Regions from separate parts of the Homo sapiens genome. Here regions 1, 2, 4 and 5 are each linked to region 3. Evidence: promoter capture Hi-C in human tissues and cell types (Jung and others, 2019). All regions are on one chromosome and are shown on one strand. The core of a region is centred on a gene start or on the middle of the fragment in contact, and the rest is flanking DNA. Distances in the headings are between cores, read along the strand shown.

Region 1 (2,700 bases), core at 192-2,691, 330 kb before region 3:
ATGGCGGAAGTTGAAAGGTACATCTCACATGGCAGCAGACAAGAGAAGAGAGAGAGCTTGTGCAGGGAAACTCCCCTTTTAAAACTATCTGATCTCTTGAGACTTACTCACTGTCACAAGAACAGCATGGGAAAGACCTGCCCCCATGATTCAATTACCTGCTTACTGGGTCCCTCCCATAACACATGGGAATTCAAGATGAGATTTGGTTGGGGACACAGCCAAACCATATCAGTCATAATATATCCTCCTCTTTAAAAAATATTTAAATATTTGCTTTTTATAGTCTACTTAGAACTTATTTTTGTGTGGGGTATGAGATAGAGATCCAATTTTAAATTTTTTCCAAATTCATAACCAATTGTACCAGTATTGTTTATTGAATACAGTCCTTTCCCCAGTGATCTGCAGTGGTACCTCTGAAACACATCAGATTTCACAAATGCATGGATCAGTTTCTGGTTGCTTCATGTACCTAATGATAATTTAATTTCTTTCTCCCTAGTTCTTAAATCTTTTATTGATCTTTTTTTGTCTTTTTTCCTTTGCTTGGACCACTAGAGAAAGTTGTATGGAGATTGTGGTAAGATTATCCTTATATTGTTTTTCATTTAAAAGAAATGCTGTGAAAGACTGAATTATGAACTTTGTTATTTTTTTTTTGGTAGATTCCTTTATTAGGTTAAGGATGATCACTTTACTAGTAGTTTAATAAAAGCTTTTTAAAAAAATCATGAATAGATTTTGAATTTTCTCAAATGGTTTTCTATACAGTGTACTTATTTAGATAATTTTAAGCTTTTTTTAAAAATCGTGATTGAGATGAGATATTTTATTCTTTTAATTTAAGCCATCATTGATTTCCTGGGAGAAACTGTGATGTACTACATTAAAAAATATTACCAGGCCAGGTGTGGTGGCTCACACTTGTAATCCCAACACTGAGAGGCTGAGGCTGGAGGATCATTTGAGCGCAGGAGTTCAAAACCAGACTGGGAAATATAGTGAGACCCCATTTTTACAAAAAAAAAAACCAAAGAAAAAAAATTAGCCGGGCATGGTGGCATGCATCTGTAGTCCTAGCTACTTGGGGGACTGAGGTTGAAGGATCACTTAAGGCTGGGAGGTTGAAGCTGCAATGAACTGTGATCATGCCTCTGCACTCCAGCCTAAATTATTGGACCCAATATGCAAATATTTGGGATTTTGGCATATATATTCATAAGAGGTGTTGACCAGTGATAATCTTTTCTTGTATCACCCTTATTCAGATTTGGTATCAACATGATACTTCATCATCTTTGTAATAATTTCTTTCTTTTTTTTAGAGACAGGGACTCTCTCTGTCACCCAGGCTAGAGTGTAGTGGTGCTATCATATCCTACTGCAGCCTTGAAGTCCTGGACTCGAGTGATCTTCTTGCCTTAACTTCTTGATTAGCTGGGATTATAGGCGCAAACCACCATGCTCAGATAATTTTTAAATTTTCTTTTTGTAGAATAAGGGTCTTGCTATGTTGCCCAGGCTGGTCTTCAACTCCTGGGCTCAAGAAATTCTCCCATCTTGGCCTCCCAAATGTCATAGTTTTGGAAAGGGAGGAATTTTTATTTCCTGGAAATTTGGCAAAATCGATTCTTAAATGGTCTGGATCTGGACCTTTTTAAATATGGAGACACTTGCAGTAGCAATTAATCACTTTGGAAGGGTCGCTAGTCCATTCTGCTCACATTTCATTGGCCAGAAGGAGTCATTCTGGCCATACCTAATTTCAGATGGGGCGGGGTGGTAGAATCTTCCTCATCCTGGAAGCAGGGGGCACTCAGTCCAATAGCACAAGGAAACAAATTTTGTCAATAATCTTGAGTGAGCGTGGGAACAGATTCTTCCCGTCAAGGCTTCAGGTGAGAACACAGCCTGGCAAACACTTTGAATGCAGCTTTGTGAGACCCTAAGCAGAGGACCCAGTTAAGCCTGCTTAAATTCGTGACTCACAGAAACTGTGAGATATTAAATACATATTGGTTTAAGGTGTTAAATTTGTGATAGCTTGTTATGTGGCAATAGAAAACTGATGTACTGATCTCTACTGACCTCCCCTTAGAAGTGGATTTGGGTTGATGAAGGGTGTTCGACTCTATTTAAGGTAACCAGCTTATTATTTATTTTCTTTTATACAACGTTTTTTCTATTTATAAAAGTAATACAAATGTTTTGTGTAGAAAAATTGGAAGAAACAGAAAATTATAAAGTAGAAGATCAACATTATCCTTAATCTTAGCACAAAAGGATATTCAGTGTTTTTTCCTACTTGTATTTATGTATGATATGCATATCCTAAAGTTGGGATTCATTCCAAAGTATGTTTTTTGAACCAATATTTTTCCTTTTACTAGATCATGAGCATTTCCTTGTCTCATAATGTGTTCTTCTAAAATATGATTTCAAATGGCTGCATACTATTCCAAAGAGTGTCCCAGTTTATTGAACCATTTCCCTATAGCTAGACATTTATGTTGCTTTAAAATACTCATCATGATAAATAATGCTTTGAAAAATATCCTATACAAAAATCATTGTGCGTATCACTGATTGCTTCTAAATTTCTAAAGGTAGAACTATTAGCTCAAAGGTTGTAAATGTTTTTAAGTCCTTTTCTACCTAACCATCTATTTTCCAACATTTCTAAAAAATAATGTAAGA
Region 2 (2,700 bases), core at 40-2,539, 280 kb after region 3:
ACACCCACCCAGGCCACACCCACCAGGCGGACACGCCACCCCAGGTCACACCCATCAGGGGGCGCACAATGCTGCCAATGATCCCGTCAGGAATAGACGGGTGTTGAGTTCAGACACACGGGCTCAGGCCGGTGCTGTGACAGGAAGCTCCTGAGATGAAGACGGACTCCAGAATGAGCCTGAATAGGTGGGCCCTACCTGAGGCTGAGTGACTCTAGGCAGGACCCCTCTCTGGACTCTCCTGAGAGACCAGGCGCCACAGCCCCACCTCATGGGGTGATGACTAAGGACGTTTGCGCACAATGGGCTTCCCAGAGTCCAGACCTAGAAAAAAAGAGTCCCTACCTCGTCAGAGTACATGGGCACGGGCTCTGGAGGCGGTGGTTCAGGCTGCACAGACAGCTGGAAGAGGCTGGGCGCCACAGACGGGGTCAGTGCCAGGACAGGAGGCAGAGGCACTGGTGAGGGCGCAGGGGCTGGTAGAGACTGTGGGAGACTGGACAGGGGTGCATCCGGCTCTACACCACACTCCTCTCCTCTCCCTCCGCCTGGAAGGAAACATACAGGACAAAACATAGCTGCAGACACAGGGTGCCTGGCACCACGGGGACCGAGGTCTGTGCAGGGACAGCCCCAGGCCACCCACAGTGACCCTGAGGACTGGCCTGCCCTCCAGGAGACCAGCTACGTGGGACAACATACGCTTTGCATGAAAAACAAGCCCCAGGATGTCAGGGAGCCAGGAGGAGGGCTTCAAAGCCCTCAGTCCACTCCCAGTGAGAACCATCTGAGCATGAGGAAGAGCCACACCCCTGGGCCCCAAGACAAGACAGGTGCTCAGGCTCCTGGGAGGCGTCCTGGCGAGAAAATGCAGATGCCCAGGCTCCTGGGAGGCGTTCTGGTGGGAAAATGCAGCTAGTCCCCTCACTACGACTGCAGCTTCACTCACCCACTGTGTCGGAGCCGGGTCTCTGGGTGCTGACGGGCAGCTCCGCGGCCAGGCTCTCCCCGATGTACTTGTTCTGGGAGTTGAAGCTGCACACAGGGGTATGACGAGGGACGGGGGGCAATGGCCCTCCGTTCACAATTTCCCCGACTGACACCGTCAGCTTCCTAGTAATAAACACCGACTTCCTGGTCTTGGATAATCCCTCTGGTTCCAGGAATGCAGACCGGTTCAGCTCCACACAGCTACCCAGACCACAAAAGACCCCCGAGGGGTGTCACCAGGGGAGAAGACAGCTTCGCCCTCAGTGCCCTGCCGAGTACTGCAAGCCCCTTGGGTGTCACCACAGCCATGTGTAAATAACAGAAAGCACAGGCGCCAGGTCCCACTGCCGCCCACCCTGGAGCCTCTGTAGGTCCCTAGAACCACTAAGCCCAGCGTGTTAACAGACGCACGCTGACTCACTCCTGCCTCCTTGCTGGCTCACCCAAAACCGTCTAATTTTCTGAGGACAGAACTGGAAGGAGGAGACAGAACTAGAAGGAGACAGAACTGGAAGGAGGAGACAGGCAGGAGGCAGGTGAGGAGTTAGAGGAGACAGGGTGGGGAACTAGGCACCGGGTGTTGAGTGTAAGCTGCCAGTTTCTGAGAGAGCGTCTGTGAGTCTCACCACTCTGACTGGTAAGTACCGGAGAAGACTCCGGCTGGCCTGCGGGTGCCTCCATCCCAGCCGTCAGAGGTTGTCCGTCATTGGCTGGCAAAGGCAGTCAAGGGAAAGAATAAAGAAGGCCCTAACTTTTATCTTTAGGTTTGTCAGCAAGTCATGAAAAGGACTGATTTTGGAGTCACAAAGAACTTGGTCTGAGCCCTCAATGTGCTGACAGCCAGGATGTGACCTTGGGAACACCCCCAGCCATTCTGAGTCTCGTGTGTTCACCTGCATGGCAGAGGGAATGCACCTTCTTCAAGTCAGGCAAGCAGCCAGCCCTTCACAGCCCTTCATCAGAATTAACAAGAAAAAAGGAGACAGGGGCCCCACAGTTCCATTCTCAGCTCTTACCCGTCGGAAACGGTGAGGCCGTGGCAGGTGAGGAAGTCGGTGGCCTCTTCACAGTCTCTGAACAGCAGCATGCGCACCACACCATCCAGGGGAAAGATGGTAGATCGCTGTGTGCTCACCGTGTACGCAAAGTTGAGCGCCCGGAGAGCATCCTTGCGGATCTGAGAGGAGGAGCGAAATCACTGCAGTCTCAGACGAAGGCCCAGTCAGACACATGCAGTCAGCCCATGACCACAGCCATGGCCAGCGTGGGGCACATGGGCTCCTCCTGGGCTGAGTCCACCAGAAGGCGCTTTGGCAACACGGAACCCAAGCTTAGAGATCATAGGCGGTCTGCTCAGGGGCAGTGCTCAGGAATGCGTGCCAAGCAAACACTCTCATAGAGAAGGATGGCTTGTGAAGGTTTTATTCATAAGAGAAATCATGAAACAAACTGTCCATCAACAAGACCAGGTGAAGTCAGCTGTGCAGCATCCACATGACAAAAGGCCAGGAAGGTGCTGCAGAGGACCCCGGAGACCATGGAATGCCAGCAGGAAACCAATCCCGTGGAATGACATATAATAGTTGGAGACAACTGTTCACGGCATTCTAACAAGAGCCTTAAAAAAAAAAAAAGAAGACAGAGACCAGGTGCAGTAGCTCATACCTGTAATCCCAGCACTTTGGGAGGCCAAGGTGGGAGGATCACTTG
Region 3 (2,700 bases), core at 141-2,640:
ATAAGACATTTAGGCTGGTGTTAGGCAAGTCTCAGCAGCTCCAGCTTTGGGAAAGCTCTTCTGGGACCTTCTGTGGGCCAGGGATGCATCTGGCCACATCTGGAGCCCACCCCCAGGTGATATCAGGGACAGCCCCTCTCTCCTCTCTCTGTCTCTCTTTCTGTCTCTCTGTCTCTGTCTCTCTGTCTCTGTCTCTCCGTCTCTGTCTGTCTCTCCTCTCTGTCTCTCTCTGTCTCTGTCTCTCTGTCTCTGTCTTTGTCTCTCTCTGTCTCTCCTCTCTCTGTGTCTCTGTCTCTGTCTCTCTCTCTGTCTCTCTCTGTCTGTCTCTCTGTCTCTCTCTGTCTCTGTCTCTCTCTGTCTGTCTCTGTCTCTCCTCTGTCTCTCTGTGTCTGTCTCTCTGTCTCTGTCTTTCTGTCTCTCTCTCACTGTCTCTGTCTCTCTCTGTCTCTCTGTCTCTGTGTCTCTCTGTCTCTGTCTCTCACTGTCTCTCTCTCTGTCTCTGTCTCTCTGTCTCTCTGTCTCTCTGTGTCTCTCTGTCTCTGTCTCTCTGTCTCTGTCTCTCCTCTGTCTCTCTGTGTCTCTCTCTGTCTTTCTGTCTCTCTGTCTCTCTCTGTCTCTGTCTCTCTCTCTGTCTCTGTCTCTCCTCTGTCTGTGTCTCTGTCTGTCTCTCTGTCTCTGTCTCTCTGTCTCTCTCTCACTGTCTCTCTCTGTCTCTCTGTCTCTGTCTCTCTGTCTCCACACACAGCATATATAACAACTATATTGTGAGCAACTTTGTCTTCCCACGGTACAAACTGAAATATCTTTGGCAAATACGTATCCGACTATACTGTGAAGAAATATTGACGTGAAAAAAGAACGCGGAGATCTGATAAAGCAACAATTCAGCTCACGGCGAGGTCCTCTGCAGGAGGCGGTTGGTGGGAAGAGGCGAGTGAGCCTGCCCGTGCGTCCCGCATGGAGACGTCTGGATTGGAAACTACCGAAAGATGTTTCAAGGAACTCTCCCTGGGTGACACGCTGGTTTTCAGACGTTTGATTCAGCTGCTGCAGTTTCCTCCTCCCTGACACGGGAACTGAACTGCAGGCCGCGGCGAGCCAGCCAGGGAAACCGCCTTCTCCCTGGGCTCGGAGCTGCTGCCGGTTCTGGAGGGAGAGACCCCAGCAAGGAGGTGGTGACTCATGGGCCGCTCCTCCCCGCCCCGCCCCGCCCCTCCCCTCCCGCCCCGCCCCTCCCCTCCCGCCCCTCCCCTCTCCTCCCGCCCCTCCCCTCCCCTCCCCTCTCCTCCCGCCCCGCCCCTCCCCTCCCCTCCCGCCCCTCCCCTCCCCTCCCGCCCCTCTCGCCCCGCCCCTCCCCTCCTTGCCCTCCGCTCTCACTCTGGCTGGGAGCAGAAGGCAGCCTCGGTCTCTGGGCGGCGGCGGCGGCCCACTCTGCCCTGGCCGCGCTGTGTGGTGACCGCAGGCCCCAGACATGAGGGCGGCCCGTGCTCTGCTGCCCCTGCTGCTGCAGGCCTGCTGGACAGCCGCGCAGGATGAGCCGGAGACCCCGAGGGCCGTGGCCTTCCAGGGTGAGTGGTGGCTTGGGGTGCAGGCTCCAGACCCCCCGCTCTTTGCTGCCGGCCAGGGCCAGATGCGCGGGGTCCCCTCCCACGCGTGGAACTGCAGACTGGGGGCCTGGAGCCCCTGAACCCCACTCCCCGCTCGGGGCGGCTGCAGCGCCCAGCTCTGCCCCACCGGGCCTTGGCCGGGGCCCCTAGAGGCTCAGCATTCAGCATTCTCAGCGGGGCCGGACCGCAGGCAGCTCGGGAGGGGCTCCCTGGCGAGGGGGAGCTGGTGCGGGGCTGTCTCGGCGCCCCGTGAATCCGTTTGACCCCTCACCTGGCAGTGAGTCCAGACGCACGGCCCCCCCGACCCCCGTTCTAGAAGAAGTCGTGCGCTGCTGGTTCTGAATCCAGCGAGAAACCTTCCCGTGAGGTCTCACTTGTCCGGTCCCGTGCCGGGGACGCCCTGCCCTTCGGGGGAGGTTGTGAAGGTTTCTGACTCCCCTCGAGGCACAGGAGCGGTTTGGGGTCTCTCACTCCACCCCCTCCCCACCGTCCCCACCGAGGGACGTCCTGCTGCCTTTTCCCGGGAGAGCCTCTCCGGGCCCGGGGCTCTGTGCTGCAGGCGCTGGGCTGGCCGGGAGGGCAGGCCCAGCAGAGACTCGGGGAATGGGGCGAGAGCTTGAAGGCCCCTCTCCTCCATCTTCGGCCAGACTGCCCCGTGGACCTGTTCTTTGTGCTGGACACCTCTGAGAGCGTGGCCCTGAGGCTGAAGCCCTACGGGGCCCTCGTGGACAAAGTCAAGTCCTTCACCAAGCGCTTCATCGACAACCTGAGGGACAGGTAGGAGGGACGCCCCGTGACCTTCCTCCTGTGCTTCTGGGCCTCTTGGAGGGAGGGGTGGGGGCCCAGGGGAACACGGGTGCGACGGCCTCAACCTCCTAAGGTTGGGCGAGCGTTGCCCTGACCGGGGCCCCTCCCGGCGCCCTCCAGAGTGAGGCCGGGGCCCTTTCCGGCGCCCTCCAGAGTGAGCTGGTCTGAGCCTCTCCCAGCGCCTTCCAGAGTGAGCTGGTTTGAGACCCTGCTCGCGGGGGTGGCACCTGTTCAGCAGGGCCGAGGTGACAGTGAGGCTGAGATGTAGGGAAGAGAGGCTCCCGCA
Region 4 (2,700 bases), core at 135-2,634, 340 kb after region 3:
TTCCTGGAAAGTGTGATCCTGTGGGTGCAGCCCCTGCTCGCTTGGCTGTGTTGCCTGCCTGGCCCCTGCTCTAATGAGCCCACTGCCCAGAGTTTGCTCAAACCACCCAATTCCGAGTCTGGGAACCAGGAGACCGCTGGACACCCCGCTCACCACACAGAAGACTGTGGCCTGAGTCAGGAGAAGGAAGTTTCTGGCGGTCGAGCTTCCACGGCTTCCTGAGGGAGGTTGCAGGGAGCCGAGATCGCGCCATTGCGCTATAGCCTGGGCGTCGCAGCGAGACTGTCTCAAAAAAAGAAAAAAAATTCTGAGCGAGATTCCAGGGCTTCCTGAGGGCGCGTTTAAGTTGCAGTTGCTGAGGAGGCTGCAAGGTGAGCTTGCGTCAGCGAGGAGCCACTCCAGCACGCTCGGGAAGGGCATCGTTACTGCTGCAAACAAGCACACGGCCCTCCACGACGAACCTTTTGCAAGTGAAGGCGCACGAACAGGCCCGGAGGACTACAAAGAAACCCAGAAACCAGACTTGGACACATGAAATAAAGGGGTTAGCTGAAGGAATACTCCACAGTTAAGGACGGCCTGCGCGAGGTCACCGGCCCTGTCTTGGTTTTTTGCCACTTCGCTCCAGTTAGTTTCCCAAGTTCCACCTACGCGCGCGCCAGCTGAGAAAACGCCCACCCCGGCGGTCCCGCCACAGGTCACAGGCGGTGCGGACCCCGGGACTGTGTCCGGGCTTCGGTGTCCAGAGAGCTCCAAGACACCCAAACCTTCCGTGGTTTCCACCTCTGCAAGCTTATGTTCCGCTGAGCTCAAGCTGAGGGACGACGACCTCATGCGACGTCAGTTTCCCCCTGGGACCACGAACCCACGGCCCCATTTCTCTTCTGTCTACTAAAAACCTTTTCTTTTCTTTTTTTTTTGAGACCTAAGACATCAGTGAGACACACGAGCAGACACGGGCTCGGTCGGGAAAGGCGGGAGCTCCAAGCGGCGGGGCCTGCAGGTCCAGGCGGTTCGCGGGCTTTCTGACCGCATTCGGCCGAGTTCTTCTCTGAAGACCCAGGACCCCCGGCCGAGGGGGCGCATTCGGCGGGCTGGTGGCGTAGGATTTTGTTTCGGGTTCCCAGGGTCCCGGCAAGGGTGAGGGAGCCCTTGCGGATCCCCTGAGATCCACCTCAGCAGCCTCCTCCGTGGTAGGCCTCAACTTCCCGCGGCGGCCCACAGCCAACGACTAATGCCTGAGCGGGAGAAAACGGCCTGGCCCTGTCCGGGTGGTTGCTGAGCACCGTTCGGCGCCGCCCGCGCCTGCAGGGAGCCCGGCCCGCTGTCCTGGTGGACACAAAGCCCAGGGGCCGCCCGCGCGGGACCAGCAGCGCGAACTTTTTGCCGCTCGGCCAGCCTGGCAGGGGATTTTAAAATCGGCCAATCACAGCGGGCGCCAGGCCTCCGCTTTCCGCTTACTGGTCCTGCCGTAGGAGGCGGGTACGTGAGCGCACCAATCTGTGGCCGGCGAGCGTAAAGGGCGGGGCTCCGCCCAGGCTGCACCGCCCAGAGCGCGCGTGCGCGAGACCGGAAACGCAGCCCCCTGATTGGCGGCGCGTGTCGGGGGCGGGGCCGCGGCTGCGTGACAGTTGTCGCGGGGGGAGGGCGAGCCCAAGCGCGGGGGAGGGAGTGTAAATAGAGCGAAGGCTGCTCTGTGTCAGCCCCGTCACCGCCGGGCGGCCCGCGCGGAGTCTGAGGGAGATGGAAGTTGAGCAAGAGCAGCGGCGCAGAAAGGTGGAGGCCGGGAGGACGAAGGTAAACATTAGGGGCTTCTTCTCTAGCTGCTCTGGCGTGAAGTCCTAAGGGCGGCTCCGGTGCCCGCCACCGCCCCCTGCCAGGAGAGGACGCGGTCCGGCGGAAGCCGCCGCGGAGGTCTCGCTTTTTCCCGCCGGCTCCGCTGGAAGCCGCCTCCTGGCCGCCGCCATCTTGAATCCGCCGCTCTCCGCCAGGTCCCGCCCCCGCCGCGGCCACAGCCAATCAGCGGCCGGGACGCGCGGCGCCTCTCGGGCGGGCCGGGGCGGGGCTGCGCCTGCGTCGGGGGGGGTGGGGCGCGGGCTGGGCGCGGTGCACGCCGGGGCGGGGTGTGGCTGCAGGGCGGGGCTACAGGGGCGTGGCGTGGCTGCACGGAGGGGGTGGGGCGCGGCAGGCGCTGGACCCCAGGCTGGATCTTCCAGTGGCTCCCGCGTCCTCCGGGACCGGGTGGCCTGGGGCGGGCGGCCGGTATTCGGGTGGCTGCTTGGTCTAGGGCCAGTTTCCTGCGCGGCCGGGGCCGGGGGCGTGGCGCGGGTGGCCTGCAGCGCCTCCCCAGGGTGCGCCTTCGCCTCGTCCGTCGGAGATGCTTTCCCCGCGCGTTTCTCGCGGCGTTGCAGTCCTTACTGTGTGAAAGGCCCCCGCGGCGCTCCCGGCCGCCGTCTTCTTCCCGCGCCCTTGGGCTCGCGTCCTGCCCGTCCGGGCCTGGCGTACGCTGCCGGGAACCCACGCGGCGCTGGCGCCGGGCGCCTTCAAGGGACGCGCTCCCGTCTTTCTCCCGCCCCGGGTTTCTCCGTGAAAAAGCGCTCGGTTTGATGGCCACTGTCCTAGGTTTCGTGGGAATAAAGCGCGCAGAGCCCATGACTCGGGGGCAGGAGAAAGGGAGTCCCGAAAGCGCGAGGCGGAACC
Region 5 (2,700 bases), core at 39-2,538, 260 kb after region 3:
ACTTCAAGGATCTCTATGGGGAACAAGAAGGAACAGCAAAGTTCCACCATCCTGTGCCCTTTCTGTTCAGGTTTATTGTTGTGAATGAGAATTTTTTTTTTTTTAACATGTTGTGGATCTATCTATCTGATCACCTTATTGAACTGAGAATGGTTCTATGGACTTGACTTTTCTTGGACTGACAACTGTACTGTCTGGAAATGACAGTTTCTCCTTCCTTTCAGTATTTGTGCCTGTCTATCCCACATCCCTGTACTGGTCAGGATTTCCAGGACAATAGTGAATAATAGTCGGGACAACAGGCTGGTTCTGATTCCACTGTTCCTAACATTCTACCAAGAAGCATGTTTTTTTTCTATTTTGGTAGTTTTATGTTAGGTAGCCTTATCAAGTTAGGACTTTTTTTTTTTTTAACCCAAGCTAAAGAAAGTACCCAAAATAAAGAAATTTTATCAGGAACAGGTATAAATTTTAAGAAACGTATTTCAACGCCTGCTAAAATTACCACTTATTTTTCTATTATGGCAACAAATTACATTAATAGATTTTCACTGTTATTGTTTATCCTGGGAGAAAGCATACTTGTGAACTTTTTTAGGTACTGTGCTTTGGAACCAAATTTGGAAGTGAGATGAAATGTCAGCTGTACTCTCCTGGTTAGGTATGATTTCAGGGTCAGGTATGCCTGATAAATGAAGTGAGATGCTTTAACTTTGTTCTAGAATAGTTTCTACTGCATGGGAATGATCTGTTCCTTGAGGATTTGTCACAGTCTGCCCACAGTGGACTGGATTTGGCATGTAGGATGTTAATTTCTATTTACTTTGCAAGAAAAATACAGTTTAGCAAGCAACAGAAACATACTGAACATGAACCTCACCGTCCCTCTCTCAGCTGTAGCTCCTTCTGCGTCTGCAACCTGGCTTGTTCCCACGACAAAGGAACATCATATTTTTTCAAATCGTTTTTAAAAAAATACACACATATCTGACCATCTTCACTCAGCGCCTCTGAGAAAACAATACAAAAACAGATAAAGAGGCCAGCCTGGCCAACCCTGTCTCAAAAAAAAAAAAAACACACACAAAAAAACAAAAACAGGTACAAATAATATTTAAACAGCGACAGGTGGCATGTGCTTAAATTCACTGATTTAAGTGCAAGACCTTTGATTAAAGTCACACAATTATGTGACTTCCACACTTGGGTTAAATAGGCTCCCAGGGTCCATGCATCACTCAAAGTCCAGACAAGCTTACATCGAGACTGGCAGGGCCAGTAATGACTACTCAAAAGCCACAAAATCCTCTCTAAGAGCCATCCTAGGGGGCCTGTTTCAGGGAGGTGAGTTCAGGCTCTACCAGAAACTTCCTAGCCTGTCTCAATGTTTTTAAGTCACTCACTTGAAGAGGGAAGTCCTAAGGAAAGGAAGGATAGAGACCCAAAAGAAAAGCAGCAACATCAACTAAACATCTTCCTTTGCAGAAACTGGACCAGGAAAGTCTCGTGAGGAGCTGATCCCATTGCATCAAGCTCTAATTACCTGATGTAACAGGAAGCCGGGGGGGCGTCCAGTCTCTCAGCTTGTGGTTGATACACAAGGCGATAAGATCATCCCATGGGATCTCCATGACCGAGGGGCCTGCCCCATGGACTGGGGAGGGACTCTTGCTCTTCCACCTACAGTAGGTTCTGTGGAGCAGGTTCTCCACCTGGGACTGGAGGACAGGCTGTGTCTGGCGTGAGCTGGGGATCTGGGAGGCGTACTGGACAACCATGGAGCACACGGGGAGCCAGGGGGCTGGGGAGAAAGTGCCTCATTAGTTACAGGTTTGGCCAAAATACAGGTGAAAATGTACATGAAAACATTTTCTCAGGAGAAGGCAACTGTGAAGTTGAGAAGTCTGCTTTCTAAACACAGCAGAACCACAGTTGTTGAGGGGGAAGAGCAGCTTGCTCCCAGGGTCTAGGTGAGGGATGCAGACAGTCCCCCTTAACAGTGTTGCTAGCCAAGTTCTACCCAGAAGTTCTGACTGTACAGGCCTGTGGTTGTGCCTAGGAAATCTGTATTTTAACAAGCACCCAGATGAGTCTGGTATAAGCAGTCTTAGCTTATTTTGGGGAACCCCAACCTAACCAGAGCACCGAGGGCTTGTGCTGAGTGGTTTGCTTCCCTTTGGGTTCCTTCAATAATGAGCATGAGTTAGACCTACTACAGACCACACACCACAATTTAGAAGGGCGCCTGAGGCCCAAAGGGGAGTGTCTGTGCTAATGCCACAACTTCTGCCAGATAAGCAGCTCATTCCCTTCTGAGTGCATAGGAAGGAGCAGCCCCATGCCATACTGGGCTTGAGCCAGCCAGATGGCCTGTCGGATCTGTGTCAAAACAGCCCAAAGACCTCAGCCAGGAACAGGGGCACAGCCAGAGCCATAGAAGAAGGCCTCTTTGACAAAGAAAGAATGTTAAATCAGCACTGAGTGCCATGGCTGCGGCTTGGGGACAGGGCTACATGGTCCCCATGCTCTTTGCCCCTTGTCTGTTCTGAAAACAGGGACCCTGTGGGCAGGCAGGACAGGATCAGGGTTGGTGTTCCTCCCAGTACCACTTGTCACTTTTCTCCTGAAGCTGAGTGAACTCCCATGGACTGCCTTGCTGGTCAGGAAAGGCTAACAGCCCCCACTCCACAAAACCCAGCT

The links. The method cuts DNA at HindIII sites, captures the fragments that hold promoters and counts their contacts. A contact is called where the count stands out against the background at its distance.
Region 1: a fragment that was not itself captured here is called in contact with the fragment with the promoter of COL6A1 in region 3 in 1 of the 25 tissues and cell types used here (lymphoblastoid cells).
Region 2: a contact is called between a fragment that was not itself captured here and the fragment with the promoter of COL6A1 in region 3, in 2 of the 25 tissues and cell types used here (hippocampus and mesenchymal stem cells).
Region 4: a contact is called between the fragment with the promoter of C21orf58 here and the fragment with the promoter of COL6A1 in region 3, in 6 of the 25 tissues and cell types used here (IMR-90 fibroblasts, liver, mesenchymal stem cells and 3 more).
Region 5: a fragment that was not itself captured here is called in contact with the fragment with the promoter of COL6A1 in region 3 in 3 of the 25 tissues and cell types used here (IMR-90 fibroblasts, bladder and mesenchymal stem cells).

The regions. Positions count from the first base shown.
Region 1 is chr21:45,649,142-45,651,841 of GRCh38, forward strand. The region is part of intron 1 of PCBP3 (poly(rC) binding protein 3); the gene reads left to right. Among named protein-coding and RNA genes, the nearest start is that of PCBP3, 6.8 kb to the left of the region's middle. The HindIII fragment of the contact is 3,792 bases long and covers 1-2,700 here.
Region 2 is chr21:46,264,976-46,267,675 of GRCh38, forward strand. MCM3AP (minichromosome maintenance complex component 3 associated protein) reads right to left here. Exons shown (of 28, transcript NM_003906.5): 10 at 2,007-2,167; 11 at 950-1,191; 12 at 346-548. Among named protein-coding and RNA genes, the nearest start is that of MCM3AP, 19 kb to the right of the region's middle. The HindIII fragment of the contact is 5,088 bases long and covers 1-2,700 here.
Region 3 is chr21:45,980,380-45,983,079 of GRCh38, forward strand. It overlaps COL6A1 (collagen type VI alpha 1 chain), which reads left to right and starts at 1,391. Exons shown (of 35, transcript NM_001848.3): 1 at 1,391-1,568; 2 at 2,255-2,384. The coding sequence starts at 1,472. LOC105372841 (a long non-coding RNA gene) reads left to right here. Exons shown (of 3, transcript XR_937803.3): 3 at 911-1,187. RefSeq lists enhancers at 1,149-2,011, 2,012-2,700. The HindIII fragment of the contact is 42,283 bases long and covers 1-2,700 here.
Region 4 is chr21:46,322,486-46,325,185 of GRCh38, forward strand. C21orf58 (chromosome 21 open reading frame 58) reads right to left here and starts at 1,385. Exons shown (of 8, transcript NM_058180.5): 1 at 154-1,385. The coding sequence starts at 253. It overlaps PCNT (pericentrin), which reads left to right and starts at 1,671. Exons shown (of 47, transcript NM_006031.6): 1 at 1,671-1,797. The coding sequence starts at 1,744. RefSeq lists an enhancer at 914-1,053 and silencers at 1,404-1,733, 2,004-2,463. The HindIII fragment of the contact is 24,092 bases long and covers 1-2,700 here.
Region 5 is chr21:46,241,922-46,244,621 of GRCh38, forward strand. It overlaps MCM3AP (minichromosome maintenance complex component 3 associated protein), which reads right to left. Exons shown (of 28, transcript NM_003906.5): 24 at 1,544-1,801; 25 at 881-1,010. The region is part of intron 3 of MCM3AP-AS1 (MCM3AP antisense RNA 1); the gene reads left to right. Among named protein-coding and RNA genes, the nearest start is that of MCM3AP-AS1, 14 kb to the left of the region's middle. The HindIII fragment of the contact is 7,439 bases long and covers 1-2,700 here.